Regions from separate parts of the Homo sapiens genome. Here regions 2, 3, 4 and 5 are each linked to region 1. The links are contacts of gene promoters, found by promoter capture Hi-C in blood cells and fetal thymus (Javierre and others, 2016). All regions are on one chromosome and are shown on one strand. The core of a region is centred on a gene start or on the middle of the fragment in contact, and the rest is flanking DNA. Distances in the headings are between cores, read along the strand shown. Region 1 holds the start of GMFB (glia maturation factor beta). Region 2 overlaps GCH1 (GTP cyclohydrolase 1). Region 3 overlaps GCH1 (GTP cyclohydrolase 1). Region 4 overlaps SAMD4A (sterile alpha motif domain containing 4A). Region 5 overlaps SAMD4A (sterile alpha motif domain containing 4A).

What was found. Contacts are between HindIII fragments. The CHiCAGO score rates a contact against its expected background, and 5 or more counts as called.
Region 2: a contact is called between a fragment that was not itself captured here and the fragment with the promoter of GMFB in region 1, in 1 of 17 cell types (total CD8 T cells). The highest score is 7.3, in total CD8 T cells.
Region 3: a fragment that was not itself captured here is called in contact with the fragment with the promoter of GMFB in region 1 in 2 of 17 cell types (total B cells and monocytes); the score reaches 5.9 in total B cells.
Region 4: a fragment that was not itself captured here is called in contact with the fragment with the promoter of GMFB in region 1 in 1 of 17 cell types (M0 macrophages); the score reaches 5.5 in M0 macrophages.
Region 5: a fragment that was not itself captured here is called in contact with the fragment with the promoter of GMFB in region 1 in 4 of 17 cell types (activated CD4 T cells, monocytes, naive B cells and 1 more); the score reaches 6.1 in activated CD4 T cells.

What each region holds. Positions count from the first base shown.
Region 1 is chr14:54,486,367-54,492,026 of GRCh38, forward strand. GMFB (glia maturation factor beta) reads right to left here and starts at 2,614. Exons shown (of 7, transcript NM_004124.3): 1 at 2,559-2,614. The coding sequence starts at 2,561. RefSeq lists a silencer at 2,297-2,696. The HindIII fragment of the contact is 2,730 bases long and covers 1,975-4,704 here.
Region 2 is chr14:54,895,321-54,900,980 of GRCh38, forward strand. The region is part of intron 1 of GCH1 (GTP cyclohydrolase 1); the gene reads right to left. Among named protein-coding and RNA genes, the nearest start is that of GCH1, 4.7 kb to the right of the region's middle. RefSeq lists an enhancer at 2,091-2,591. The HindIII fragment of the contact is 3,526 bases long and covers 2,514-5,660 here.
Region 3 is chr14:54,852,571-54,858,230 of GRCh38, forward strand. The region is part of intron 3 of GCH1 (GTP cyclohydrolase 1); the gene reads right to left. Among named protein-coding and RNA genes, the nearest start is that of MIR4308, 23 kb to the right of the region's middle. The HindIII fragment of the contact is 3,391 bases long and covers 1,304-4,694 here.
Region 4 is chr14:54,791,829-54,797,488 of GRCh38, forward strand. It overlaps SAMD4A (sterile alpha motif domain containing 4A), which reads left to right. Exons shown (of 13, transcript NM_015589.6): 13 at 1-1,484. Among named protein-coding and RNA genes, the nearest start is that of MIR4308, 84 kb to the right of the region's middle. The HindIII fragment of the contact is 3,264 bases long and covers 1,266-4,529 here.
Region 5 is chr14:54,776,331-54,781,990 of GRCh38, forward strand. It overlaps SAMD4A (sterile alpha motif domain containing 4A), which reads left to right. Exons shown (of 13, transcript NM_015589.6): 11 at 84-210. Among named protein-coding and RNA genes, the nearest start is that of SAMD4A-AS1, 91 kb to the left of the region's middle. The HindIII fragment of the contact is 2,323 bases long and covers 1,023-3,345 here.

The sequences.
Region 1 (5,660 bases), core at 1,364-3,863:
AAAACACTGGGCAATTGCTTCAGGACATTGGTCTGGGCAAAGATTTTTTTGAGTAAGACCTCAAAAGCACAGACAACTAAAGCAAAATAGACAAATGAGATCATATCAAGCTAAAAAGCTTCTGAGAGGAAAGAAAACAACGAGTGAAGAGACAACCTACAGAATGGGAGAAAATATCTGCAAATTCTCCACTCAACAAAGGATTAATAATCAGAATATACAAGGATCTCAAACAACTCAATAGCAAAAAATTCCCATTTAGTCCTAATAATAGTTAACATGTATCAGACCCTATGAGAGAAACACTGTTATATCCTTTACATAGATTTCCTTTTATGTTCAAAACAATCTCACGAAACAGATACTATTATTACTCCCATTTTGCAAGAAACTAAGGTTTAGAGAGGTTAAGTATCTTTCCCCAATTACATAGCTAGTGGAGCCAGGATTCAACCCAGGCAGCCTATCTTAACTCACTCTCTTAACCACTACAAAGGAGGTGGTGACAGATTGGATATTGGGGGTGGGGGTGGGGTGTGAGTAAGCAAAAAAAAGGGTTACCAGATATACTAGGCTTCTGGCTGGTATAACAGATTGTCTTGTATAACAGACAGAAGACTAGGTTTGAGGAGAAAGGGCATGAGTTCTACTTTGGACAAACTGAGGTGGCTTTGAGGAGACCAAGTGGAGGAAAAGCTTCCCAGGGGAATGGTAACTAAATATTGAAATATTAATATATAGATCTGGGGTCAGGCGCGGTAGCTCACGTCTGTAATCTCAACACTTTGGGAGGCCGGGGCAGGTGGATCACTTGAGGTCAGGAGATCGAGACCATCCTGGCTAACATGGTGAAACCCCGTCTCTACTAAAAATACAAAATTAGGGCCGGGCGCGGTGGCTCACGCCTGTAATCCCAGCACTTTGGGAGGCCGAGGCAGGTGGATCACGAGGTCAGGAGATCGAGACCATCCTGGCTAACACGGTGAAACCCCGTCTGTACTAAAAATACAAAAACAAAATTAGCCGGGTGTGGTGGCGGGAGCCTGTAGTCCCAGCTACTCGGGAGGCTGAGGCGGGAGAACGAACGGCGTGAACCAGGGAGGCGGAGCTTGCAGTGAGCGGAGATCGCGCCACTGCACTCCAACCAACGCGACAGAGCGAGACTCCATCTCAAAACAAACAAACAAAAAAACAAAATTAGCCGGGCGTGGTGGCACATGCCTGTAATCCCAGCTACTTGGGAGGCTGAGGCAGGAGAACTGCTTGAACCTGGGAGGCGGAGGTTGCAATGGGCCGAGATCCCGCCATTGCACTCCAGCCTGGGCCACAAGAGTGAAACTCCGACTCAAAGAAAAAAAAGTACATACAGATCTGGATTGGATCTCAGAAGCAAGGTCTTCTGAGCTGTAAATTCACAAGTCATCTGAATATAGATGGTAACTGAAGCCATAGTTTAGGATGAAGAATACAGAATGGAAAATGAAGGATTAGGATGAAACCTGGGACTCCTTCGAGCATTGTCCAGGGAAAGGAGAATAGTCTGAAAGGGAAACAGATGGACCAATAGGAGAAGTAGGAGGAGCTCTGTATCCCAGAAGCCAAAGGGGAAGAATGAAGGAAGAGAATGCTTCAAAAACAAGAGAGTATAACACTCTGGAATGCAGCTAAAAGGTCAGAGAAGACGAAAACTGAAAAGAATCCATTCGATTCAGTGACCATGACAAGATCTATTCGATGAAAGTGGGCTGAGAATTGAGTGGATGGTCACAGAGAGCAGTGTTTTGTTGTTTCTAATGAAATTTACCCATATTTTAAAACCTAATGGGATGGATCCAAAAGATCCTTGATGGCGATTTATTTAATTTTCCACTTTATTTTTATGCTTGGGGTCCATCCCATGTAAGAACAGAAGCCACAGCCCCCAGAACCAACAAAACTAAAGTTATTGACAATTACTTTAAGGCCCAGTGCCAAAGCTTTGGGTCGAAAGGTTTCCAACTGCCATAGGAAAGCAAAGATAAGGAGAAATCCTCTGTAGGAAGCTAGGGAAAGGAGCAGAGAGAAAGAAGCTAAGGTGAGGCCGAGAGAATTCAATCGGAATTCGAGTCCTCCCCCAAAACGCCGCCAGGTGGAAGATGCTCGGGGCCCACCAACCCCTGGAACCTGGCCACGGCCCTGGCAGGGAAAGCAGGAATTGAGGGAGCCCTCCGATGGGGCAGACCCCTTTCCCTCCAACCTACAGCTCAGAAGCTGAAGCCCTCCAACCAGAAGGACCTGGCGTGGGGCCTCCCCAACCCCCCTGCTCGTGGCCGCACCCTAGTCCCATGGCCCGCTGGGCGGGTCCACCCCGGGCCCAGCTGGAAGATGCTGCCCTGAGGCGTGGTGGCGGCGGCAGAGGCCAAGTACTCTAGCTATGGGCACTGGCCAGCTGCTGGGAGCGGAAGCGGCCGCCGAGCCCTCCTGGGCGCTGCCCGCCGCCGCCGGCTCCGGAAACCGGGAAAACCCGGCTGGCCGGCTCGCCCAGCCCTCCGGCCCCCGCCCTCCCAGCGGCAACTCACCATTTTCCTTCCGGCCGTCAGCGGCCTGTCGCCTACACTCGGGCGCCTTTAAGAATGGCACGGCGGCCGCCTCCCTTCCTGCCCCGGCGCCTGGCCCAGTCGCCCCCACCTATCAACGCGGCCTCAGCGGGCCGGCACGTGATGGCGGACGGCAAAAGGCGCGGCTCAAAATTAGACAGAATGCGATCGCCTGATTTTTTTTTTTTTTTTTTTTTTTTTTTTTTTCTTTTCCCTGCTCCCTCTAGAGGAGGACGCTCTGCCTGGCTGCAAGTGAGAAACAAACCCAAGGTGCATACTTAAAAGTCATGCCAGTTCTCCGGACCTTTTTCGCAGTCTTCAAGCTCTGAGAGCATGTTAATGGTGACATCAATGTTTTCAATGGTAAATGTGTGTACTGACCGCAGCCTACCTTCCAAATTTGATCTCCCTCAAATCTAGGCACACCTCCTTTCCTCCCACCCTCTCCAGAACCCCACTTCTGACCACGGCTGCCTTCCAGGACTTGGTTAATCAATCTCTCTCTCTCTCTCTCTCTCTTTCTCTCTCTCTCCCTCCCCCTTTCCCTCTCTCTCTTACACACATTTCTTCTCTCTCACACACACACACATTTCTTCTCTCTTCTCTCACACACACACATTTCTTCTCTCTCTCTCTCGTCTCGCTCTGTTGCCCAGGCTGGAATGCAGTAGCACGATTATAGCTCACAGCAGCCTCAAACTCCTGGGTTCAAGCAATCCTCCTACCTCAGCCTCCCCAGTAGCTGGGACTACAGCCGTGTGCCACCACACACCCGGCTAATTTTTAAATTTTTTTGTAGAGATAGAGTCTCCCTATATTGCCCAAGCTGGTCTTGAACTCCTGGCCACAAACAGTCTTCCTGTGTGCCTCCCAAAGCGCTGGGATCACAGGCGTCAGCCACCATGCCCAGCCTCTTTTCTCCATACAAGTTATTTATTGAAGTATGAATGAATGATGATTGGTGTTTCAATGAGCACTCTTATGGGCCACTGCCTAAGTAAACATCAAGAAGTCTCTGTACCAGATGCAGACTTAGTGGAACAAGTCCAGTTTTGAATGCATGAAGAAAGTGGTTTGGGAGAAGTAAAGTTTAGGCTCTAGGATTCAACAGGTACCTTCAATAAAACAAACTGCCTGGGGCAGTACCTCATTTTGTTATGACCATGGGTTCTTGGTCTCTCAATGCAAATTGACCTGAGGCCAAAAGAGTTTCTCCAGGCAAGGCTTCATTGGAGCTTATGCCGGAGCATAAGGGAGGCAGCATAAGAGAATGAGAGAATTCCCTGACTGACTCTCCTAAAAGAGCACAACAAATTAGGGGTAGTTTATGCAGGTCAGCATTATCTGTTTGCCAGGGTTGTCTTGAGTAATGGGCCACCCAATGGTCTGGTTTGCGGCAACAAGGCTGTGAATCAATTGTTCAACATTCCTCTCCAAGGTGGGACACTCTCAACCTTGGTTATCTCCTAAGGCCAGTCATTGGAATTCTTTAAATAAAAGGACTATTAGCAGTAAGGTAGTGGTGTGGGTTTGTCATGAGTGGAAATGCATGAAAAAAATGCTCTAGTGTGGGTGAGCTGAAGCCAAGCCCCATTTCTACTGTTTTTCATTTCCCCTTATAAGATTTTACCTTCCTTATTCTTAAGGAGAAAGGGCCAAAGATCTTATCTTCTAAAGCTACTTCCTGCTGAACAGGGTTGTCATCCCTGCTTAACCCCGGGGGGCATGGAAATCTCTCACCGACTGTTCTACAGACTTGAAGGGACTTGGAATAGTTGAAGCCTGGAAGACATAAACTTTAACAACTGTACCCCTATTGAATATAACAAATAATTATTTTAAAAGCCAAATAGCACCCAGTGATAACTAATAAAATGCTTAAGCTCAGTTTAATAATGATTGTAGGAAGAGATTAGATGCCATTTGGAATCTAAGTGAATAGTCTCCTGTTGTCTGAAATATAAGGCAACAGACTTTTAATAAGAGGCATTTCTATGGAAACAGAAGAAAAACAAACGTTAATGGTTGGTATAATCTATCCAGATGTTAGACTCAAAGCATCTTTAGTTACAGAGGAGGAAGGCAGTGGCAATGTGACATGTTCTTCTTGCTTGTATCACAAGAAATAAGCTTCAGCTTGCAGGGCCTCAGAAAAAAAGGTAGTAGGAATTCTATTGAGTATAAGTCAGAAAAATGGGAGAAAAATTTGAAAACATTATTTTGGAGACTTGTAGCCCAGAAAGGTTTTAAGATCAAATCCAAATTGTAGAAAATAATATTTTATTTTTATTTATTTTTTGAGACAGAGTCTCACTCTGTCGCCCAGACTGGAGTGCAGTGGCTTGATCTCAGTTCACTGCAGCCTCCACTTCCCATGTTCAAGCGACTCTCATGCCTCAGCCTCCCAAGTAGCTGGGACTACAGGTGTATGCCACCATACCTGTCTAATTTTTTTTGTATTTTTAGTAGAGAAGGGGTTTCACCATGTTGGCCAGGTTGATCTTGAACTCCTGACCTTAGTGATCTGCCCACCTCAGCCTCCCAAAGTGCTGGGATTAGACGCATGAGCCACCACACCCAGCAGAAAATAATATTTTAAAAATACTCAAACACAACAGACAAGACTAGAGTCTACCAGCAGGTGTATTATAATATTTCTCTCTCCAGTCTCTCATTTTTATCAGAGACGAATCAAGGTAGGACCAATTTGTAAAATAAGTTTTAGTTTTATTATACTTGGCCTTATTATGTGTATAAAGTGCAGCAAGAATAATTATCTTTTAAATTGGCTTTGTTGGAACTTTTTCCATAAGGAATCTCAGATGAGACTTTTTAAAGCCTTGAGCAGGCTGGGCTGCAAATACCTGTATAAACTGGGTGAATTCCTCTCCTCTGGACATCCCAGGATAACTTGGAGCTTCTGGGCCTGTTAGAAAGTGACATTCTTGGATGAGTGCAGTGGCTCACACTTGTAATCCCAGCACTTTGGGAGGCCAAGGCGGGCAGATCACTTGAGCCCAGGAATTCGAGACCAGCATGGGCAACATGGTGAAACCCTGTCTCTACAAAAATTACAAAAAAATA
Region 2 (5,660 bases), core at 3,027-5,526, 410 kb after region 1:
TTCCCAAAATTTTGAACTGTTAACATGATTTATAAAAACTGTCTTGGCAGACAAGCTAAAACCTACTTTAACTGGAAATGTGACAGAGTCAAGACTCTTGCATATTCCCAAAAACTCATAAAAAACAACTGATGGAACAAGTTATACCCATTTAATCCTTGGTAGATAATGCTGTCTGAAAGGCTGTTCCCATGTATACCTGGAAGGGTCAGTTACAGGGGCATGAAGATCAAGGCCCTCAGAGAATAGCAGACTCTCCAATTTAACTAAGTGTAGGTTCTGAATAAAAGAATAGTGGAAATACAGGAAAGGTACCTTATATAGAAAGGAGAACTCACCAAGATAAAACCTTGAATATTTAAGAGAACTAGGATACAGCTAAACTGAAATGGCACAGAAATAGATCAAGACGAGCTGGTCTGAGCTGGTCCAAGGATCAGCTTGTGATGTAGATTCAAAGGACAGCCAGTTCCTGGGAGAGATGATAGCGTCTCCTCCAGCCCTCCCTCCTAGCCCATGAGCTACAGTCCAGTAGGGAATAGTACTAGGAAACCTATACAACCCTGACACCACCCTGGTCACAGATGACCACAGATGCTCCCATGGAAGGTACACACTGGAAAGTAGGGAAAAGGTGCACAAGGAGACAGTCATGGAGAGACGCTGCAACGTAGGGAAAACTGAACAAATTCCCCAGAATGCCAGGAATTTGGATCAATCCACACAAGAGGCACTGGGAGGAAAAATGGATTTTGAAGAATGTAAAATACCAACTTATTTTAAATTTTACAACACTTAAGTCAACATTACTAACCAGGAGTTAATATATAGAATACAGATATATAAAAGATATAAAGTCCTGTATCCTGTTTACAAGCACAGAAAAGTGACCTTCAGAGAAGTATGTTCTTATCCAAAAACAATATATAGTGGCCACTTGACTCATGCTCTCTAAAGAAATAAAAGGGATTGTGCAGAAGCGTTTATGGACCTAAAGATGTGGGTTCCCACTCACTCCTATCTCCCACCAGTATCCTTCCTTCTCCCTGCCATCCAGGTTGGTCCAAGACCCCACCACATTTCAGGTTCATTCCTTTAAGTTCAGCATCATCCTTGTTCTCACTACTCTGTCTTCTCTTTAATTATATATCTCTTTAAAAAAAAAAAAGAAATATTAAATCCTTAAACAGATCCCCTAGATACAGGCTTTCAAACTTTTGACTACAACCTACAGTAAGAAATGCATTTTACATCTGGAGCCAGTGCACACACACACAATTATGCCTATAAAACCTACATAGAAGTTTCTCGGCCGGGAGCGGTGGCTCACGCCTGTAATCCCAGCACTTTGGGAGGCCGAGGCGGGCGGATCACAAAGTCAGGAGATCAAGACCATCCTGGCTAACACGGTGAAACCCCATCTCTACTAAAAAAATACAAAAAAAAAAAATTAGCCGGGTGTGGTAGCGGGCGCCTGTAATCCCAGCTACTCAGGAGGCTGAGGCAGGAGAATGGTGTGAACCGGGAGACCGAGCTTGCAGTGAGCCCAGATCGCGCCACTGCACTCCAGCCTGGGCTACAGAGTGAGACTTCATCTCAAAAAAAAAAAAAACAAAAGAAGAAGTTTCTCAAAACACTTGTCCTTACTATATGTGATAGACTGATCTTATCCATTCTACTCCACTTTTTGTTTTTTTTTTTTTTTTTTGAGATGGAGTCTTGCTCTGTCGCCAGGCTGGAGTGCAGTGGCACAATCTCGGCTCACTGCAACCTCCGCCTCCCGGGTTCAAGTGATTCTCCTGCCTCAGCCTCCCAAGTAGCTGGGACTACAGGCACGCACCACCACACCCAGCTAATTTTTGTATTTTTAGTAGAGACGGGGTTCTTGATCTCTTGACCTCGTTATTTGCCCACCTCAGCCTCCCAAAGTGCTGGGATTACAGACTTGAGCCCCCGTGCCCAACCTCTACTCACTTTTTTTTTCTGAGACTGAGTTTCGCTCTTGTTGCCCAGGCTGGAGTGCAATGGTGCAATCTTGGCTCACTGCAATTTCCGCCTCCTGGGTTCAAGCAATTCTCCTGCTTCAGCCTCCCAAGTAGCTGGGATTACAGGCATGCACCACCACACCTGGCTAATTTTTGTATTTTTAGTAGAGAAGGGGTTTCTCCATGTTAGTCAGGTTGGTCTCGAACTCCCAACCTCAGGTGATCCACCCGCCTCGGCCTCCCAAAGTGCTGGGATTACAGGCGTGAGCCACCGCGCCCGGCTACTCCACTTTTTTTTTTAATGCTGTTGACCCAATTCACAGTTTGAAATATACAGATAGGGTACACTGATTCAGTTCTCTCTGTAGCAGTATAAGGAAGTGGCTAAGAATTCTGCAGTCAGACTCTCTGGATTCAAATACCAGCTCTACTACTTGTGTCAACCTCTCTGCCTCAGTTGCCTTGTCATGGGGATAAGAGAAATGTTTACTTGAAAACTGGAAGATGAACCAAGACCATCCAACGTAAAGCTTTTAACCCATTAAAAAGTACGGTCATGCATTGCTTAACAATGGGGATACATTCTGAGAAACACCTGAGAAATGCAGTTTCATATCGCAAACACTGAAGGAAGAGAGTGCTAACACAAACCTAGATGAGATAGCCTATTACACACCTAGGCTACACGGTAGAGCCTATTATTCCTAGGCTACAAACCTGTATGGCATGTTACTGTAATGAATGCTGCAGGCAACTGTAACACAATGGTATTTGTGTATTTAAAGATATGTAGGCCAGGTGGGATAGCTCATGCCTGTAATCCCAGCACTTTGGGAGACCAAGAGGAGAGGATCACTTGAGCCCAGGAGTTCGAGACCAGCCTGGGCAAAACAGTGAGACCCTGCCTCTATATTTAAAATACAAATAATAATAATTTTAGAAAGACATCTAAACATAGAAAAGGTACAGTAAAAATATAGTAGAAAAGACTTAAGATGGTATGTCTGTGTAGGGCACTTACCATGAAAGGAGCTTGCAGGATTGGAAGTTGCTCTGGGTGAGTCAGTGAATGCATGGTAAGTGAATGTGAAGGCCTAGGACATTACTGTACACTACTGTAAACTTTATAAACACTGTACACTTGGGCTACACTAAACATATTTTTTCTTCAATAATTTCAGCTTAATGTATTTAAAACTTTGACTCTTTTGTAATAACACAGCTTAAAACAAAAACACATTGTACAGCTGTGCAAAAATATTTTATATCCTTGTTCTATACCTTTTTCTATTTTTAATTTTAATTTTTATTTTTATTTATTTATTTACTGTTGAGACGGAGTCTCACTCTGTCAACCAGGCTGCAGTGCATTGGTGCAATCTCGGCTCACTGCAACCTCCACCTTCTGGGTTCAAGTGATTCTCCTGCCTCAGCCTTCCAAGTAGCTGTGACTACAGGTATGCGCCACCACATCTGGCTAATTTTTACATGTTTAGTAGAGATGGGGTTTCAACATGTTGGCCAGGCTGGTCTCTTTCTAACTCCTAACCTCAAGTAATCCGCCCACCTTGGCCTCCCAAAGTGCTGGGATTACAGGTGTGAGCCACCATGCCTGGCCCAATTTTCTTAATTTTTAAATTTTGTTAAAAACTAAGACATGGGGGAGACGAGAGGAAAAAACTAAGACACAAACAAACACATTACTCTAGGCCTACACAGGTCAGGATCACCAAGACATCACCAGACAATGTGAATTTTTCAGCTCCATTGTAATCTTATAAACCACCTTCATACATGTGGTCCATCATTGAAGGAAACATCATAATGTAATGCATGATTATATTCAATTAATGGCTTATAATAATCTTAAATGGGCTGGGTATGGTGGCTCACACCTGTAATCCTAGCACTCTGGGAAGCCAAGGCAGGCAGATCCCTTGAGCTCAGGAGTTCAAGACCAGCCCGGGCAACATGGCAAAAACCCGTCTCTATCAAAAATACAAAAATTAGCAGGGCATGGTGGCACAAGCCTGTAGTTCCAGCTATTCAGGAGGCTGAGGTGGGATCACTTGAGTCCAGCAGAGTGAGACTGCAGTGAGCCGAGATTGCGCCACTGCACTCCAGCCTAGGCAGCAGAGCCAAACCCTGTCTCAAAAACATGAAAATAAACATAATAATAATAATCTTAAATGGTCCGCTCCATGGACTTTTCTTTTCTGAAACAGGGTCTCCCCACGTTGCCCAGGCTGTTCTCCTGAGCAACAACTATCCTCCTGCCTCAGCCTCCCTAGTAGCTGGGACTGCAGGCACGCCACAAAACCTGTCTTTATATTGTGGTAAAATATATATAAAATTGGTCATTTTTAGCCATCTTGAAGTTACAATCCAGTGGCATTCACAATATTGTGCAACTATCACCACTCTCTAGTTCCAGAACATTTTCATGACTCCAAAAGGAAGCTCCAAAGGAAGCTCCATACTCATTAAACAATCACTACCCATCCCCCTCTTCTCGCCAGTCCCTGACAACTACTAATCTTGCAGTGTCTCTACATCCATGGACTTTTTTTTTTTTTGAAATGGAGTTTAGTTCTTGTTGCCCAGGCTGGAGTGTAATGGTGCGATCTCGGCTCACTGCAACCTCCGCCTCCAGGGTTCAAATGATTCTCCTACCTCAGCTTCCTGAGTAGCTGGGATTACAGGCACCTGACACCATGCCCGGCTAATTTTTGTATTTTTGGTAGAGAATGGGTTTTCCCATGTTGGCCAGGCTGGTCTCGAACTCCTGACCTCAGGTGATCCGCCCGCCTCGGCCTCCCAAAGTGCTGGGATTACAGGTGTGAGCCACCGCGCCCGGCCCATGGACTTTTTAAATAGTAAAACTTGACCAGAACAGTTTTTTTGTTTTTTTTGTTTTTTCTGGAGACAGAGTCTCCCTCTGTCGTCCAGGCTGGAGTGCAGTGGTGCAATCTCGGCTCACTGCAACCTCCTCCTCCTGGGTTCAAGTGATTCTCCTGCCTCAGCCTCCCGAGTAGCTGGGACTACAGGCGCCCGCCATCACACCCGGCTAATTTTTTTGTATCTTTAGTAGAGACGGGGTTTCGCCATGTTGACCGGGCTGGTCTTGAACTCCTGACCTCAGGTGATCCGCCCACCTCGGCCTCCCAAAGTGCTGGGATTACAGGCGTGAGCACCGAGCTCGGCCAACCAGAACAGTTTTCTAATGTGGAATGATGTGTTCTTTGCAGTTATTAATCCTCTTTAAATGAATCTTCGCTCATGAGATATTTCAGCTAACCATTTCTCAAGTAAATCTGTGAGTCACTTTAGATAATTCTGTGACCTGTCTCAGGGTCAGAAATTCCTCTCTCTTTGGGTAATTAGATCCATGCTAGATTACAGAACACTGTCCTATGAATTCTCTTTAAGGGAGGATTCCCAAAGCCTGGCCGATGCTGTGAAGTAAACCACTTTCTGTGTCTGCAAGGGGCAAAATGAGTAAGGCCTTAAGAAGACATTTCATTACATTGTGAAATATCTCACACACACACACACACACACACACACACACACACACACACACAAATTTAAAGCCCTAGACCTCCAAAGAGCTGATCCCACAGAAAACTGAAAGTTTATTTTTCAGTCTTTGTATTTTGAAATCTCTTCTGAGAT
Region 3 (5,660 bases), core at 1,749-4,248, 370 kb after region 1:
CAGATGTGGGAGAAAACATGCAAACTCCACACAGACAGTGGGTCCCAGCAAGGAATTTTTTTTTCTCAATCATACTGAAATGACATTGAATGAAACAACATTATTCCAGGACTGTTATATGCCACTTTGCCTGAAGTCATTTCGCTTCAAGTTGCAGTCTCCAAGAACCCATCGACAACGTAAAGTGAGGACTTACTGTACTTGTTTTATATCCTATCTCTGATAGTTCTACTATCTGCCCTCTTCCATCGTGTTTGTCTGACTCGACTCATGGTACTCCTTGGAACTTCATCTTTGGGTATCCTTCCAAGCCTGGATAAAAGTGCATCAGAGAACATGCACTAGTTTCTGCTAGCTGCCTGCAAGGATACCTCTATGGGGATGTTTTATTTATTTTTATTTATTTATTTTTGAGACAGAGTTTTTGCTCTTGCCCAGGCTGGAGTGCAATGGTGCGATCTCAGCTCACTGCAACCTCTACCTCCCGGGTTCAAGCAATTCTCCTGCCTCAGCCTCCTGAGTAGCTGGGACTACAGGCGTGTGCCACCATGCCCAGCTAATTTTTGTATTTTTAGTAGAGATGGGGTTTCACCATGCTGGTCAGGCTGGTCTCAAACTGCTGACCTCAGGTGACCCACCTGCCTTGGCCTCCCAAAGTGCTGAGATTATAGGCATGATCCACCATGCCTGGCCTTATGGGGTCGTTTGAAACTAAATTATTCCATTTGATTTTTTGAAGGCCACACAGGTAGTACTAATTCTGATCCCAAACTTTATGAATGTGTCTATGAGTTCCTTTTTCTTTTTCCTGCTCTTCCTAGAATAATGCTAATAGGTAAGTATCGTCCTTGATTTGGGATGGGAAAAGGGAGGACAGAATCCAGACTGTGGCTTTAGTGCTAATTCCAGTGGATTCTCACTAGAATTGCCTCATGCTTTCCCGAAAGTGTAAAATGTACATATGCATTATATCTTGATACGCTGTGCCAAGAGGGGCATTATTAATCTAGTTCACCACACCCAGCATCAGTAGTTGTCAGTTTTAATCTAAACCATTCTTACATTCTTGGACTAAACATCCCTGGGTCATGTTGAAAACAGTACTTCTATACTAGCCTGACATTTTAAGATTCTTACAACTACATTAATCAGTGAGATTTGCCTATCATTTTTTTTTTTTAATGCTAGGCTTATCAGGCTTTGTTATCAAGAATAGGCAGCTTCATCAAATTAATTGACACTTCACAGGTTTCTCTACGCTCTTGAATTATTTATACACATGCAAAATTTGTGGTTACTTGAAAGCTTGAAAGAACACTTATAAAACTGACTGGGTCCAGGCACTTTCCCCCAAATCATTAATTTGACCTTTTCTAATGGTTATTAATGTATGCAGGCTTTCAAACTCTTGGTCCATTCCTTTCTCTCCCCATCTTTTTAAAAAACGTATTCATCAAGATGTAAAGATTTATAAAGCATATTTTTAGTTACATATCGTCTCATTCCTAGATATCAGACTCCCCAGCAACCTATGATACAAGATTTTCAACTTGTAGATTTGTGATTTCTGTTCTTTGGCTTTTTCTAAATTATTCTAAATAAGGAGTTTGGACTTTAACTGAAAAGCTGTGGTGAGCCACCAAAGGAGCAGCATGATCCAATCCACACTTTAGAAAGAACATCCCAGCAGCTCATGAGGGCAAACTGAAGGATCCTCAGAGATGAGAGGCAGGGAGGAGGCAGGAGCTTAACATTCCCTCCAGGAGGAAGATAAGAAAGGCCCAGCAAAGACCTGCAGCAGGGAGGGCAGGAAGGCAGGAAGTGGGGGTGCTGCACCTGCCGGGCAGTGAGCACACGCAGCAGTGGATGGGTTCTGCCTCACTCCTCACCCCAAAATACACTCCAGATGGAGCAAAGATTTAAATATAATAATGTGGCCATACAAGTACCAAAAAAAAAAGAAGTTTGTGAACTACAGAAAAGTTTTAAACTTCTTTATGGAAATATAATACTATAAAGCAAAATCAAAAGACAAATGACGAGCTGGGAAGCATTGTCTGTAGCACCTGACCTGACTGCTTTAACATTCAGAGCTTGTGCAAACCAAGAATAAAAAGACAAATAACTCAGTGGAAAAATTAATACTGGAGCTAAGAACAGGAAGTGTCTGAATAGATTCAACCTCGCTCTATTAAGGAAATGCAAATTAAAATAGATACTATTTTTTACTTATCAGTTTGGCAAAGATTTAAAAGTGTGATGAAAAGTGTGTTGGCCGAAGTGTGGAGAAACATACACCACCCCTTACCTATGTATCTATTTATTAGAGTATAAACTGGCATGGTCTCTTTGGAGAGCAATTTCATAATATCAAAAATTCGGCTACCCTTTACCCATCAAGTTCCATACTAGTAATTTAAACTTCAGATAGATTCAAAGCACACAAAGATAATAAAATTTGTTCACCAGGGTACTTTTTTACTTTTTGGCAAGTCTCAAACTGCAAACTGTACTTATCTATAGCAAATACTGGTTAAATGAATTGTATTAATCAAAGAAATATTAGGTAGCTATGAAAAGAAACTTGGACTTTTTGGACTAAAAGATGTCCAAAGAACTTCAAGGTATTTTAAATTTTTAAAAAGCTGGCCAGGGCCAGGCGCGGTGGCTCACTCCCGTAATCCCAGCACTTTGGGAGGCTGGGGTGAGCAGATCACCTGAGGTTAGGAGTTCAAGACCAGTCTTGCCAACATGTTGAAACCCCATCTCTACTAAAAATACAAAAATTAGCTATGCGTGGTGGTACACGCCTGTAATCCCAGCTACTCAGGAGGCTGAGGCAGGAGAATCGCTTGAACCCAGGAGGTGGAGGCTGCAGTGAGCCCAGATAGTGCCACTGCACTCCAGCCTGGGCGACAGAGAAAGACCCTGTCTCAAAAAAAAAAAAAAAAAAAAAAAAGCTGGCCGGGTGCAGTGACTCATGCCTGTAATCCCAGCATTTGGGAGGCCAAGGCAGGCTGATCACTTGAGGCCAGGAGTTCGAGGCCAGCTTGGCCAACATGGAGAAACCCTGTCTTTACTGAAAATACAAAAATTAGCCAGGCATGGTGGTGCACATCAGTAATCCCAGCTACTGGGGAGGCTGAGGCAGGAGAATCACTTGAACCCAGGAGGCAGAGGTTGCAGTGAGCCAAAATCGCACCACTGCACTCCAGCCTGGCCGACAAAGCAAGACTCCATCTCAAAAAAACACCAAATAAAATAAAATTTTAAAAAGCAAGTTGTAGTACAGAATATAAGATATGATCTTATGTTTGTGCTTGCATAAATATTTTCCAGAAGGATAGTGAAAGAAATCTCTAGTTCTAACTCTGGGGAATGAAAATAGGTAAGAAAAGTTTTCACTTTATTCACTCATTTGTATTTAAATGGTATGTTGCTTTTATAGTCAAAAAAGAAAAAAAAATACTGCTCCCTCTGTAATCTAATACTCACCTCACTTACTCTTACTTCCATCAGTCAATCTGGTTCCCATCCACTGGAATAGGCCTTGCTCCTACCCTCTGACTGGTCTTTGCTCATGCATTAACTATACCTAGAGAAACTTCTCCCCCATTTAGAATTCTGCTCATCCCTCCACCTCCAGGTCTATTCACCTGCCAGGCCACAGCCATCATGGCTCCTCTGAACTTGGAGCTACAGCAGGCATTTCCATGGCACTTGCAGTCTTGCCCTGTGCACTCTCCTTGAGGGTGGCTGCCATGTCCTGCTTCTTTAGCCTCCACAGTAGCTGGCACAGTGCCCACCCAACAGGTCAGCCATGGCTACCTGAGATACTACAACTCTAAATTCAAGATTTCGTACATTCACTCAATTATTTATTTATTTATTTATTTTTAGTGACACAGAGTCTTGCTCTGTCACGAGACTGGAGTGCAGTGGTGAAATCTCGGCTCACTGCAACCTCCGCCTCCCAGGTTCAAGCGATTCTTCCATCTCAGCCTCCGAAGTAGCTGGGATTACAGGCGCATGCTACCATGCCCTGCTAATTTTGGTATTTTTAGTAGAGATGGGGTTTCACCATGTTGGCCAGGCTGGTCTGGAACTCCTGACCTCAAGTGATCTGCCCACCTCGGCCTCCCAAAGTGCTGAGATTACAGGCATGAGCCACCTCACCCAGCCGAGGCTCAGTTATTTCTAAGGGAAGAAAATGAATACATGTTCAATGGCTTTTCAGCAACAAAAGAAAGTTCTATTCAAACTAAGTTTATTCTAGAATTCTACTAGAGTTGAGCCAGATCAACTCACTTCTGGCATTTTCTTGTTACTTAAGGCTTTACTGCTTGATATTTGACTTCACTGGCACTGAAAGGTCATTCATTTAAAGGCAAGCATATAACAAACTTCATATATAAGATTAAAATGAGCAGTGAAGTTTTGCTAAGACATTCAGCTTTTATTCCTCTTCATTCTCTAAATATTCTTACTTCTTATAAGGAATAAGTAGTTGGATAAAATCTTAGTCTTCTTTTCTATTTAATAGACTCTTTATTCAAATTTTTTGCAAAATATTTGAAAGCAACATACACTTGGTTCTTTGGCTTCATGTTCCATTTTATTCTTAAATTTTAATCCTATTAGTCTAAGGACAAATCCCCATGCTAATAATCAACTCCTTTGTATTGTTTCATAAAAGCTTAATTATTTGAGATCTTTTCCTTTCACTTGGAAAGGAAATAACTAAGATTATTTCCTTCTACCACCAGGTTGCCATTTATTGTATGATCTCACTGAATCACTCAAGAGTCCATTTCCCATAAAGTGTTAATCATGATCAACAGTTGGTTTTTCAGAGAAGGCTGTTACATTAAGACCAAGGCCTAATGTGATCTGCCAAGCTTTTTTACACTATGAAACTATCCATTACACCTTTCACATATGGACAGTCTGTTATAGGCATCAGCAGTGCTGGAATTTCTATATGGGCAAGGTATAGGGTTAGCAATCTTGCTGACAGGGAGGCCCAGGGGACTGGGCCTACAGCTATGTTTGCACAGTAAGCATGCTGATTTTACTTAGACTGTATATTATAAAACCATAAGAATAACCAATTTTAGTAAAGATACTTTTACTCACAGTTGACATGAAATTGGTTTAATACATCATTAGTTGAGGGTAAGTTACTGGGAAGGGAGTCGTTAATAAAAATTATAGTAAGATTAATTACTCCCAATCACTACCAACACACTTTTTCTCAGCAACTTTTCAGCACTGCCACCAGGGATGGATCACACGCAAGCAGCCAGAATGTTTCTGGATTTGTGCTAAGAGCCTTATTCCAGTGAAGCAATTACAGCTATGATATAATATTCTTTCATGGTGCCAAGCAGCCCTATCTAATAGCAAAATAGCTGAGCAGGAATGAGGTCAGAAACTGGGGAAGTTAAATTTGTCTCTTCTACCCACTTTCTTATTGATCCCCAGAGGAAATGAATGAGAAAGTGGAAGTGAAAACAAAGTAACAGGAACAACTTTAGAGGGCAGTTGTCAGATTGCTGGAGTAGTTTTTTTTTTACAGATTCCAACACAGAATTGAGAAATATCAGGACCACCATTTCACAACTGTGTTAAATCCCAGGGCCTGCATAAAGAAACAGGAA
Region 4 (5,660 bases), core at 1,648-4,147, 310 kb after region 1:
TAGTAATAAAAGCAGCAGTGCCTTTTTTTGTATTTACCCATTGACCCCCACCAAATGCAACTGTTTTATATTAAGAAAATAGTAACAATTTTAAAATCTCAGAGTAAAATCTATTTCACTACATGCTTTTCCCCCCTTGTTCTGATTTAAGCAGTGTGTACTTGGCATCTCTACATTGTCCTAGGGACAGTGGTGTTCTACAATATTATCATGTATGATGTTTTATTGGTGCTTTTTATTCATAGTGGCTTCTTACCAGAAACAGTAGGAAGAAACACATGAACTGTGTACAAGACATGAAACATTGCTGCTGATATGTTGTTTTTTCACATGCTTTTGAGTTTTCACTTTTTAAACGAGAGCCAGCAAGCAAAATAGATGTGGCTGGGTCTGCCTGTCCGGGCGGCTCTTTGCACCGAGCTCTCAAATCCTGTGTATTGAGGGTTCCTTTTTGGTACTCAGGATTGGAGCTACAGCTGGGCCCCCCTCTCTCCCATTCGTTTGAAGAGACACTGAGGGAAACAAGGGTTTCTTTTGAGGTGTCCTTGGCTGCCTTTTACGGGATGGGAGCCTTCTCCGGATCTTTTGTTCTTCTGCACCTCTTGTAGCTACTGCCGGTGCAAGGTTGTAGATGTTATTCCCCAGGAGCCTGGGCTTGGGGGCTGAGCTGGGCTGAATGCAAAAGCATGCAACCAGAAGGCGGGCAAGGGGAGGAAAAGCAGGCCTGGCCTCATTGGTCCCCTGGAGATGTCTGTAGCAGTCAGCTCCAGCTTGGGCCTGGGGAAGCAGCCTGACCAAGGCGCTCAGGTGTGCCTGTTACAAGAAGAACCTGCAGAAGGATAATTTGCACATGGAGCTGTGATAACACTAATGTTGATTTTTTTTTTTTTTACAAGTCATCAGAGATGTTTGCAAAGTGAGTTTTATTTTTTTGTAATTCCTTTATCTTTACTTAAAGGTGAATGTGTATTCCTCTGGGAGGAATAGGAAGAAAACAGGAATGTTAATAATGTCGAACAGAAAACTTCCTCCCTTATTAATATATAATCCTCATGTATTTATGCCTAATGTAAGCTGACTTTTAAAAAGCTTTCTTTTGTTGCATGCCCTGTGCAGGCATCTGTATTGTACATGCATGCCTTTCGTCCTGTTTTCCTGTATAAAGTTAGTGAACAAAGAAATATTTTTGCCTAGTTCATGTTGCCAAGCAATGCATATTTTTTAAATTTGTCATATATGGAAAGAGCATGTTTGTTACATGTAAAAGCTTTACTGATATACAGATATACTAATGTTTGAAGATGCTGTTCTTTGCAAGTGTACAGTTTTCAAATGTTGTTACCAGTGAAACACCCTTGTGGTTTAAACTTGCTACAATGTATTTATTATTCATTTCCTCCCATGTAACTAAGAATCATGGCTATATTTCATATCAACGTTATATTGAAAGTGAAGGGAAATGATTAATACAAGGTTTTGTAACACTGGTGTGTCTTTTTCTTTTTTTCAACATACATGATTGAATAGAAAATAAGAACTGAGGCCTGGCGTGGTGGCTTATACCTGTAATCCCAACATTTTGGGAGGCTGAGGCAGGTTGGTCACTTGAGGTCTAGAGTTCGAGACCAGCTTGGCCAACATGGTGAAACCCTGTCTCTACTAAAATACAAAAAAAAAAAAAAAAAATAAGCCAGGCATGGTGGTGCATGCCTGTAATCTCAGCTGCTTGGGAGGCTGAGGCAGGAGAATCACTTGAACCTAGAAGGCAGAGGTTGCAGTGAGCCAAGATCGCACCACTGTACTCCAGCCTGGGCAACAGAGGGAAATTCTGTCTCAAAAAAAAAAAAAAAAAGACGACAAGAAGAAGAAAAGAAGAACTGAGTCAAATAGCCCCCTCAAGGAAAAACCAGAATGGGATCTCTGTTAACTATTCCCACCTGGCCATTCTGCACATGCCACATCTTTAGCTATGAGCTGCTTTTTAACAAAAATATGGAGAGAGGGTTTTAGAAATGTTTGCAGTTTGATCTGTGCCCAAAACAGCCAATAAATTTGTCACCAGACTTAGGGGCATGTTTCTAAATACAAACTCTAACTTTACAGACATTGTTGTTTATAGCTTGTTCCCCTCATTGTCTTTGAAATATTTCACACCTTAATCATGGCATCAAGAAACAGCCTCTTTGGAGCTTACCTATCCATGGCTTGAATCTCATTCTAATATTTCTAATTCCTGTACGATATACATTCTAAATATTGTGTCAGTTAAGCATATGAGTGGAGAGATGCACCTGGTTTTGAATTCTGGCTCAAGCATTCTCTAGCTGTGTGATCTTAGACAAGTTACTTATGTCTCTAAGCCTTGGGTTTGTTTTTTGGCTTATGATATTCAAAGTTTATATAATTAAACCTCTAATAAAAGGTGAAAACAAAAGAAAACATATGATAGAGAGGTTCCTGCCACCATAGCCTAGCAACCCCAGAGTTCTGAGAGGCAGCCACAGCTTGACATTATGACAGTGACCACACAGTGACTCCCTTTTGATCAGGCTCAGCTGCTCAACTGACATGTAAAACCGAAATTGGTCCCTGGAAGCAAAATTTCTCACAGGCTGAGATGTAAAATGTAATTCCTCATAAAGTTGAATCCTTGTAACCCAGATGAGCTATATCTAGTATGACTGCAGTATTATAAAGGAAGGAGAGAGGAGTGTGCAAGAGAAAATTTGAGCCTCACTTTGAAATGCGTGGAATGAGGGTAAATGTAAGAGTTGTGAGCTTAAAGGAGAGGGACCATGAAGAGCTCAGCATGGTGTCTGAAGAGGGGTTGCTTAGTGATTTTTATCAGCAAAGCTGTAGCTCTTTGCCAGTGATCTTTGTTATAGAATGTTCATTCCTGGAGAAAACATTACCCATAGAGGAAAGCAGCTAGGACGCCCCTCAACAGCCTCCCTTCCAAAATGAGATTTAATGCCACTTGTTAGAGGGGAATGAACATGTATATAGCACAATGGTTTGGAAGAGGCTGCAGGGGATTTGAGCCGGGAGTCCAGAAGTGGGTCTTATCTGCACATACTCTATGTGCTAACGCAGACAGGAGCTAAAGAGGCAGCACAAGCCAGGAATTCAAACTCTGATGGAAGTTTCTTGTTCCCTTGGACAGTCACTACATCTATCACTGGACCTGACTCACAATCAGCCCAAGACCTACTGTCCCCAGTGGTTGTAGGGAAGGTTGGGGGACAGCGCCTTCATCAGTGAAAATGTCATCCACAACCAGTGCTTAATCCTTCTCTAGGAAAACATGGAGCCTTTAGGGTGGCTCTGGCCCACCCAAGAGCACCATTGTGGCAGCCCACACTTTGCCATTTTCCCCCATAGTGCACCCCAGCACCAGTCTCACAGATGTCATTCCACAGGCTTCTGTAAGCACTTCCACGTTTGCTATTTTCCATCCATACCTCTTAACACTTGAAAGCCACCCCTTCACTGGGCCCTTCAGCCTCTGGACCCTTAGCAGTAGCTCTAGGTCCTCCTAGCTTATCCAGTGAGTCTCAAACCATCTGTGAATTCCAGTTGTGATACTGGTTGGTTTTTTTCCAATTTACATAGTCCAATTATTTTGTAAAATACAATAAAAATAAACTCACAACTTCCCTCCCCCAATATCTTATTTAACAGACAAAAGTATTTCATCCAACTGCTATAAAGTATTTCTATTCTGGCTCCCTAAGTTCTGAGGGCAACCTGCAAAATTCAGTATGGGAGACTGCTCTCAGGATGAGATGATGGAAATCCTGATACCAACATACCCCTAACCAGGCCAAGAATGCCCTCAATACAATAGAGAGGGACGCATCAGGTCAGAGGGGTGCCTCAAAGTTGGCCCAAGAATGGCGACTGATTTGTTCACTCATCATTTCTAAAAGCTGAAAGCAAAATAGTTGGGAAAGGGGACATGGGGAAAGAAGAGGAAGGTCCAGGAGGTAACGGGACTGGTGGTGGGAGGTTAGAGCCTGAACTGGAAGTCTTTGGAAGTGGGTCAATTTTTAGAGCGCTGTTTCCAGAGCAACCCTTAGACCATGGCCTTTAGACTTCCCACTGTCGGTTTCTGGCCTCTAGAGATTAAGAACAAAGAATGATGTGTGTGTGTGTGTGTGTGTGTGTGTGTGTGTGTGTGTGTGTGTGTGTGTGTTTCTGTCTATACATTTGGGAGACATGATTGGGAAATTGGGACACTTTGGCAAAACTTAAGCCTTATAACTCAGTCATCACTGAGGAGCCTGGAGCCCCATTGGAGCAAATGATTATTCACAGTGCACACTGTCCTCCCAAACTTCAACCCAGCCCACTGGCTTCCCACAACCTGCCTTGCCCATGGGGCTCTTGTCCACAGACATTGACTTCTCTGTGACGTAAACCTGGGAATTCAATGTCCAAGAATTTCCTCCATGGAATATTTTTCACTCTTAAGTGGTTTCTACTTCAATTTTTGAAACCAACAGAGAAATGTTCTGGCAACCTTATAAAGCTTGTGCTTTATAAAATATCCCTTTGTGTTTACGTTTGACTTGGAGTGCATGTTTTTAAATAGTGTGTTGCACAGTTTTTTGAGGTTTTGTTTTTTAAGTCTAATCCAGGAGAAACAAAATCGGAGCTTTGGTGAGTGAAATGGTCCTACCAGAGCTGTTGTTACTTGGGACTGCCAAAAAGCTCCAGTTAAATCTTCCTGTGGGAACCACAGCCAGGCCTGGGTGTCCCTCGGCTTTCTCCAGTGTTGGGACATATTTCTGGTTGTCCATGTCAGAAAAAATTTTTGAGAGGGTCTCTGTCACCCAGGCTGGAGTGCAGTGGCACAATCACAGCTCACAGTAGCCTCAATCTCCCCAGGCTCAGGTGATCCTTCCGCCTCAACCTCCTGAGTAGCTTGGACTGCAAGCAAGCACTATTACACCTGGGTAAATTTTATTTTCTGTAGAGACAAGGTTTTGCCATGTTGCCCAGGTTGGTCTCCAACTCTTGAGCTCAAGAAAGCCCCCCACCTCAGCTTTTCAAAGTGCTGGGATTACAGGTATAAGTCACCACACCAAGCCCCATAAAACAGCCTCAGTTAAGTGAGGTCAGGAGAACCTACAAACCCAAATCAAATCTGTCCAACTGGACCTCAGCAATTTGCTTTGTTATATTTATCCCAGATCTCTTCACTGAGAAGAGGCTAAACATTGATTTCCTATGATTGTTACTCATCCAAGATGGATGAGTATAAAGACAGCAAGTTGTGGATGAGAGAAAATGCATATATGATGAATCATTCTCCTCCATCCATTGTCAGTTGTGCCAATCCAATTCCAGGGCAGTGAGCACATTCTACACACTTTCTCTTGTTCCTGTGCTCTGGGGTCTGGACTACTTCATCTTTTAGCCAACTCCATTTTGCTCTTGTAAGACACAGAATCCAAGCCCTCATTCACCTGAAGTTCACTGAGTTTACCCAGTGTGTGCCTTTTTAAGAGAAAAAAAGAGATGAGGGTCTGCATTCCCAGGCTGGTCTTGAACTCCCAGCCTCAAGCAATCCTCCTGGCTTAGCCTCCTGAGTAGCTGGGATTACAGGAGTGAGCCACCACACCTGGCCAGATGTGCATCTTAAGTGTTTATATTCA
Region 5 (5,660 bases), core at 934-3,433, 290 kb after region 1:
GCCTCCCAAATTCTTGCTGGCGGCTCTGCTCTCCACCCCAGTGGGGCTGAACTAACAAGTTCCCCTTTTGCTTTTCTCACCAGAACCTGTGGTTTGCCAACCCCGGGGGCAGCAATAGCATGCCAAGCCGCACCCACAGCTCAGTCCAGAGGACCCGCTCGCTGCCCGTGCACACTTCCCCACAGAACATGCTGATGTTCCAGCAGCCAGGTAGGGCCCGGCGCTTCATGTCCCCTTGACACAGAGGGGAGGCCAAAATAGATGCCCTAGCAAACCCAGCCAGAAAGTGCTTAGCCTCGACTGTCACCGTGCATTCTTTGGAGCTTATAGAAGCCTTTCCTTTTTTAAACTGTGCCTTGCCAGCATGAATAGCGGCGGCTTGGCTGAGAGCCAGCATGTGGAGCCCCAGAGTTGGTTGCAATCGGATGGGGATATTTTTGATACTAGTCATATTTCTAGATTGATTAAACCAGAGATAGCACAAGAGGGCTTTGGTGGTGGGGAGGTGGGAGGGCTCCATGTGTAGTGTGTGTGTGTGTGTGTGTGTGTGTGGAAAGAGAAAGTGAGAGTGAGACAGAGAAAGAGAAAACTGTTGATGCTGAGACCTTCCCCCTGGTTTGGGCTTTTCTTGCAAAGTGATGACTGTTGTACCAGCCATCTTTCCTTTACTTGGTTAAAGAGCAACTTAGCACACTTCAGATCAATTTCAGCTTTCACTATGCTTCCTAAAACAGAGTGGTTGGAATTATGCACAGCTAATGAATACTTGAACCCTTTCTCTATGCAGGCAGTGATCTTGTAGACTTTGTAGACTCCATGAGTAATAACAAGCCACACAGGCAATTACACTGCACCTATCTGGATGGACCCCCCCCCACCCCCACTGCCCCAAGGCAGGCAAACTGGAGATGTGTTGTACCTGTAGGAAAATGCCCTGGACAGTAGAAACGCTCTGTCCAGTAAGTCCTATCTGTAGGAGTTTAAAGAAGAGAAGTGTTACTGTGGCCTGGAATAGGCAAGGAAGCTTCCTGGAGTTGGAGCTGAGCTTCAGGGCACAGCAGAGGGTGGAGAGAGGGAAGGCAGAGTTACAGGCAGAAGGAACCCAGGAGCAAGACTGCAAAGGTCCAGAATACCACAGCATGGCCCGGAAGCCGTGGCTGGGCCAAAGGGTCTGGCTGAGGTAGCAGAAAGTGGACCCAGGGAGCTGTAAAGGTCGTGGCCGATGGTGGGGGACTTTGAATCCAAAGCTGAGGAGCTTGGACTCTGGCCACTCTCCCTGGGGGGATTCCTCCACATGGGGGATTCCGAGTAGAAGTCAGGCAGGAGGGTGCAGGATGATGGGGTGGGGGGGTAGGCTGGAATTGGGAGGTCAGGGAGGAGGAGGACGCTGGAGGACACACTGCTGGGAACGGCATGTCAGGGAGGGGAGCGACAGCTACCCAGTGCAGAGGCCTGCTCACATTGCTTCTTGACTTCCAAAACTCTGCTCACTTTTGTTTTAAAGCTCCTTTTCTCTATATTTATGCACCAAAATATAACAATATAATTACACATATTTCTATATGCTTAGCTATTTTTCTTCCTGGGAAGAAACATGATAAAATTTGGGGGTTCTGAAGGCTTTATCCCAGGGTCCTTTCATCCCATCCTCTGTTTTCACGCAGAATTATGTATAATCCATTCCCAATAAAAAAGAATCTGGACAAGATTTGAAGAGGTCCTGCGCACAAGGAGATCTGTCACCTTGAATGGGTCTTTCACCCTGGCCTCAGTCTCACCAGCAGAGTGACCACTGTCTTCAATTCTGTATACCTTCTCAAGGCCTTCTTGATTTTTTCCCTTCCTGCCACTCTTTTGCCAGTTCTCAGCCTTCCTCTTTGTTCATACTGAATCTTCCCTGAGCTTTCTCCATCTTAACTGGGAAGACTAGGTCCAGACAGTCCCCTTTCTAAAAGCTGGGTTGTCCCGGAGCGCTTCGGGTTTGTTGATAGAATCTTCCACCTATACCTTTGTTTCCCCTCCACTATCTCACAGCAATGCCAAGTGGCTGGCTTGTGCTCAGGGCAACTATGAACCTAATATCATTTTCACTCTTCATGCAAACCCTCTTGTTCCTGTGGTTAAAGAATCAAATAATACAGAAGTGCTGTGAGCAAAAAGTGACTGTCTCTCTCCCCTCCCCTTCCTAGCCCACAGGCACAACCCCTTTTAGCAGTCTGTAGTTACCTGCAAGTCTCTAAATAATATGCTTCGCACACTGGACTTAAAACTCTGGAACGCTTTGAGTGTTTTTTTTAAAATCTCTCAAGTATTACAAACCCACTTCCAGCAAGGTCTTAAAGATCCTCACATGGCATTTTTAATAACAGCCAAAGCACAGGAAAAAGCCCGCTCTAAATTTCCTGATTGCAAATAAACCATTGAACGCTGGACAGGAGCCACTCCTAAGTCCTGCCCAGCACGCTCAGCACCATGCTGGGTGGCTCTTCCAGGACATGCATAAAGGGCATGATAGGGCAGGGCCTGGCCAGGACCCAGGATCCCTCACTGAAGGGGAAGGAGGCTGCAGAAGGCCCCTGCTTAAGGGCACAGGGTTGAGGTTCCTCAGCCCTTGCCAATCATTGTCAAGGCCACAGGTCACTGTAGTGACTTTTCCTTCCTCCCAAGGAGGCAGCCTCCTACCCAGGGACGACACCTCTGACCTCCAAGCAGGTCCAGACGAAGGCTCATCCTAGAGTCATAGAGTCAGGGTCCTCATCCTGGATTCAGAGCCGCTTCTGCTCTTCCTGGATTCAGAGCCTCTTCTGCAGATGGGCCTTTCCACACAAAGCAGTGCAATCTGGTTCGCTATGGAGACTTCCCGGGGCTTGTGGCCAGGCGTTAAAACTAGACTACAAATATCATGTCAGGACAGCAAAAATCAGGAAGTCAGAAAGTGGCTTTCATCTGTACATGAACAGGAGTAATAGTGAACACAAAATGAAATTGAGATGTGTAACTAACCCAAAAGTAGATACTCGGAAAACTGTTATCATACAATGCAGTGTTTTCCTCCTGGCTGTTAGATGTCTTCAGAGAATCCATTGTAAACTGGGCAAATCTTGAAGACTACAATGCATTTGAAGGATGCTTTCATTCTGTAAACCTAAAATAACTCTACTGATGGGAGACTTTAAACGTCTCATACAGAGAAGACAGAGGGCTAGAACCCACCAAGTTGCGGATCAATTCATCAGTCACCTTGCTCGGGTTTACAGGACTCATCCCTCGTTCCTGGTTCTACACAATTCACGGGCACTTGGAGGCCCCTCAGGAGTGGTGTTTCATGTTATTCCCACATGGACAAGCTTTTTTTTTTTTTTTTTTTCGAGACGGAGTCTCACTCTGTCACCCAGGCTGGAGTACAGTGGCGCAATCTCAGCTCACTGCAACCTCCACCTTCACATGGACAAGTTTTAGCTGTTTCCTGGGACCAGCCAGGAGACCCTTCAGGTGGCTATTGCCAGTGATGAGTAAGAAACACTACGAGGTGTAATACGCTCACCAGAAAACAAGTGTGGCGCCTGTGCGAATGGTCACGTTCCTCATGGAGGCAGGGCGTTTTCTCAACTAGATAACTGGTTTGGAAATTGCTTGGAGAGGGATCCTTTATTTTGGAAGCAACTAATTTCTACTGACCCAGGCTTAGTTGTCCTTGGGATCCAGTCAGAGAGGATCTTGGAGTGGCCCTGGCTCAACAGTAGGAGATCATGGAGGTTCTTTACCCCCTGGAGGGCCTAACAGAAAAGGGCAGGGAACCCCATAGCAGGCTTCAAAGGAAAACCTTCAGAAGGGTAGGCTGCACAGCCTTCTGAAAATCTCATTCTTCCCTTGCCCAAAGCCACATGCAAACTACCCTTGGTTGTGAACCAGCTGGATGTGAGCTGGGTCCAGTGGCACCTCACATGGCAGCATTTCATGGTGTGACTTACCTGATCACCACAGCAAACCTCCTCTAAGTACCAGCTCACAATTGGGATTCTTCTGCCATAAGCACGCTGCATATATCTGGGAGCACAGGGCTCCAGGCTGTTATTTTTCATTTCCTTCCGGAGAACTGCCTTTAGAAAGAATAGAGAGTTATTGGTGCACTGGGTCCAGTGGGGTGTGGAAGGGGCTGCCATGCAGAGGCAGAAACCAGAACAGGGACCCAAGTACAGTACTGGATAAATATTTCCTCCATGTCTTCTAATAAATCAAGGCAGACATCCCTGTTCAGGACTGGCAGACAATGGGTAGGGAGATTGATAAATAAATCAATTCTGTCATAGCCAAGAACCCAGCTGGGCCCACAGCCTCCTGCCTCTGAGCATCAACTTGGGGCAAGATGGTACAATATCATCTTATACCATGTTGTACCCATCACTTTTTGTGAAAGCGTTGGTCCCAGAGGACCTCCACAGGCACTGACCTTCTGCAGGCTTAGGAATGTTAGGAGGCCACCAGAGAAAAGGTGCGTTCCCATGGTCAACTCAGGGATGCTATTCATTACTCCTGCCACCCTCCATGGCCATCTCTGCCATCCTCAGCTTGCCTGCTGCCCCACCCCTCTGTTTCCCTGCCTGTGCCGTTTCTTTCCCTTTTGTTACCATCCTCCCCCTTTCTTCTTAGTTCTCTTGTCTTCCTTTCTTCTTTACTCATCTCATCACAGCAGACCAGGTCCCACTGCTCTGTCCCTTTTTGTCTTCCCTGCTTTCTCTCCTCCTAGCAACCCTGCTGCTCAGTGAACCAGACTCCACACCTTTCTAGTTATCCAACAGAGTTGCCTCCGCTGTCATTGGCAAAACGGGATTCTATAGATTTTTCCTGGAATGCCCCAGCCTGTTTCTTATTCTAAAGTCCTAAAGAAATTGGCTCCTTACCCTCAGTGCCTTGGAGAAAAAGCACTGCAGAATTGCACCGTGGGTGCCACACATGTGAGACCCAGCAGGGATGGACGGTTACTGCCAAGGACAAGCCCTTTGGGCTCCTCAGGTGGATGCTGCAGCAGCACCTCATTAGGGATGGGTAGCATTCTCTTCCGGAATCTTCTTGACCCTGGGCCTGAGCACAGGACTACTCCATACGTGTGGGACTTCTGAAAAGATACAATTAATGTCTCAAGTCAGCCTAGACCTTGGGGATTCCAAAACTAGCGATCCTTACTGAATACTGGAATACTGGTCCTCAGAGATGCCATCTGAGCTGAAGAAACATGCCTCCTTTGGGAAAGAGCAGAGGAGGCTCAGTTAAAGAGGGGTCTTTCCTTTTGCCTTCCTGAAGACTCACATCTCCATCTGCCTGGTCTGTGGCCACGAGGGGCAGGGGCCTGGGATAAATGAGATGGGCCCTCAGGGTTAACAGGAGCCACAGCAAGGGTTGGCCTGGTGGTTTATGTTGGTCTGTGGGGCAAGAGCTGCCCGAATGCCCCTCTGGGGCACCTAGCCCCATACAGCTGAGGGTTCCTAGCCTGAGATGGAAGCTGTTTTCCACCCAACTGGTCTTTCTGTCTTATACGTGCGGCGAGATGGCATGGATCTGTTTTTATCAAATACACAATTAAAAAGTCACACTATTAGGAAACTCTGCAGTGTGAACATATGGGCTTCTCCCAAGACTTAGAATTTTTCAGAGCCACTCGG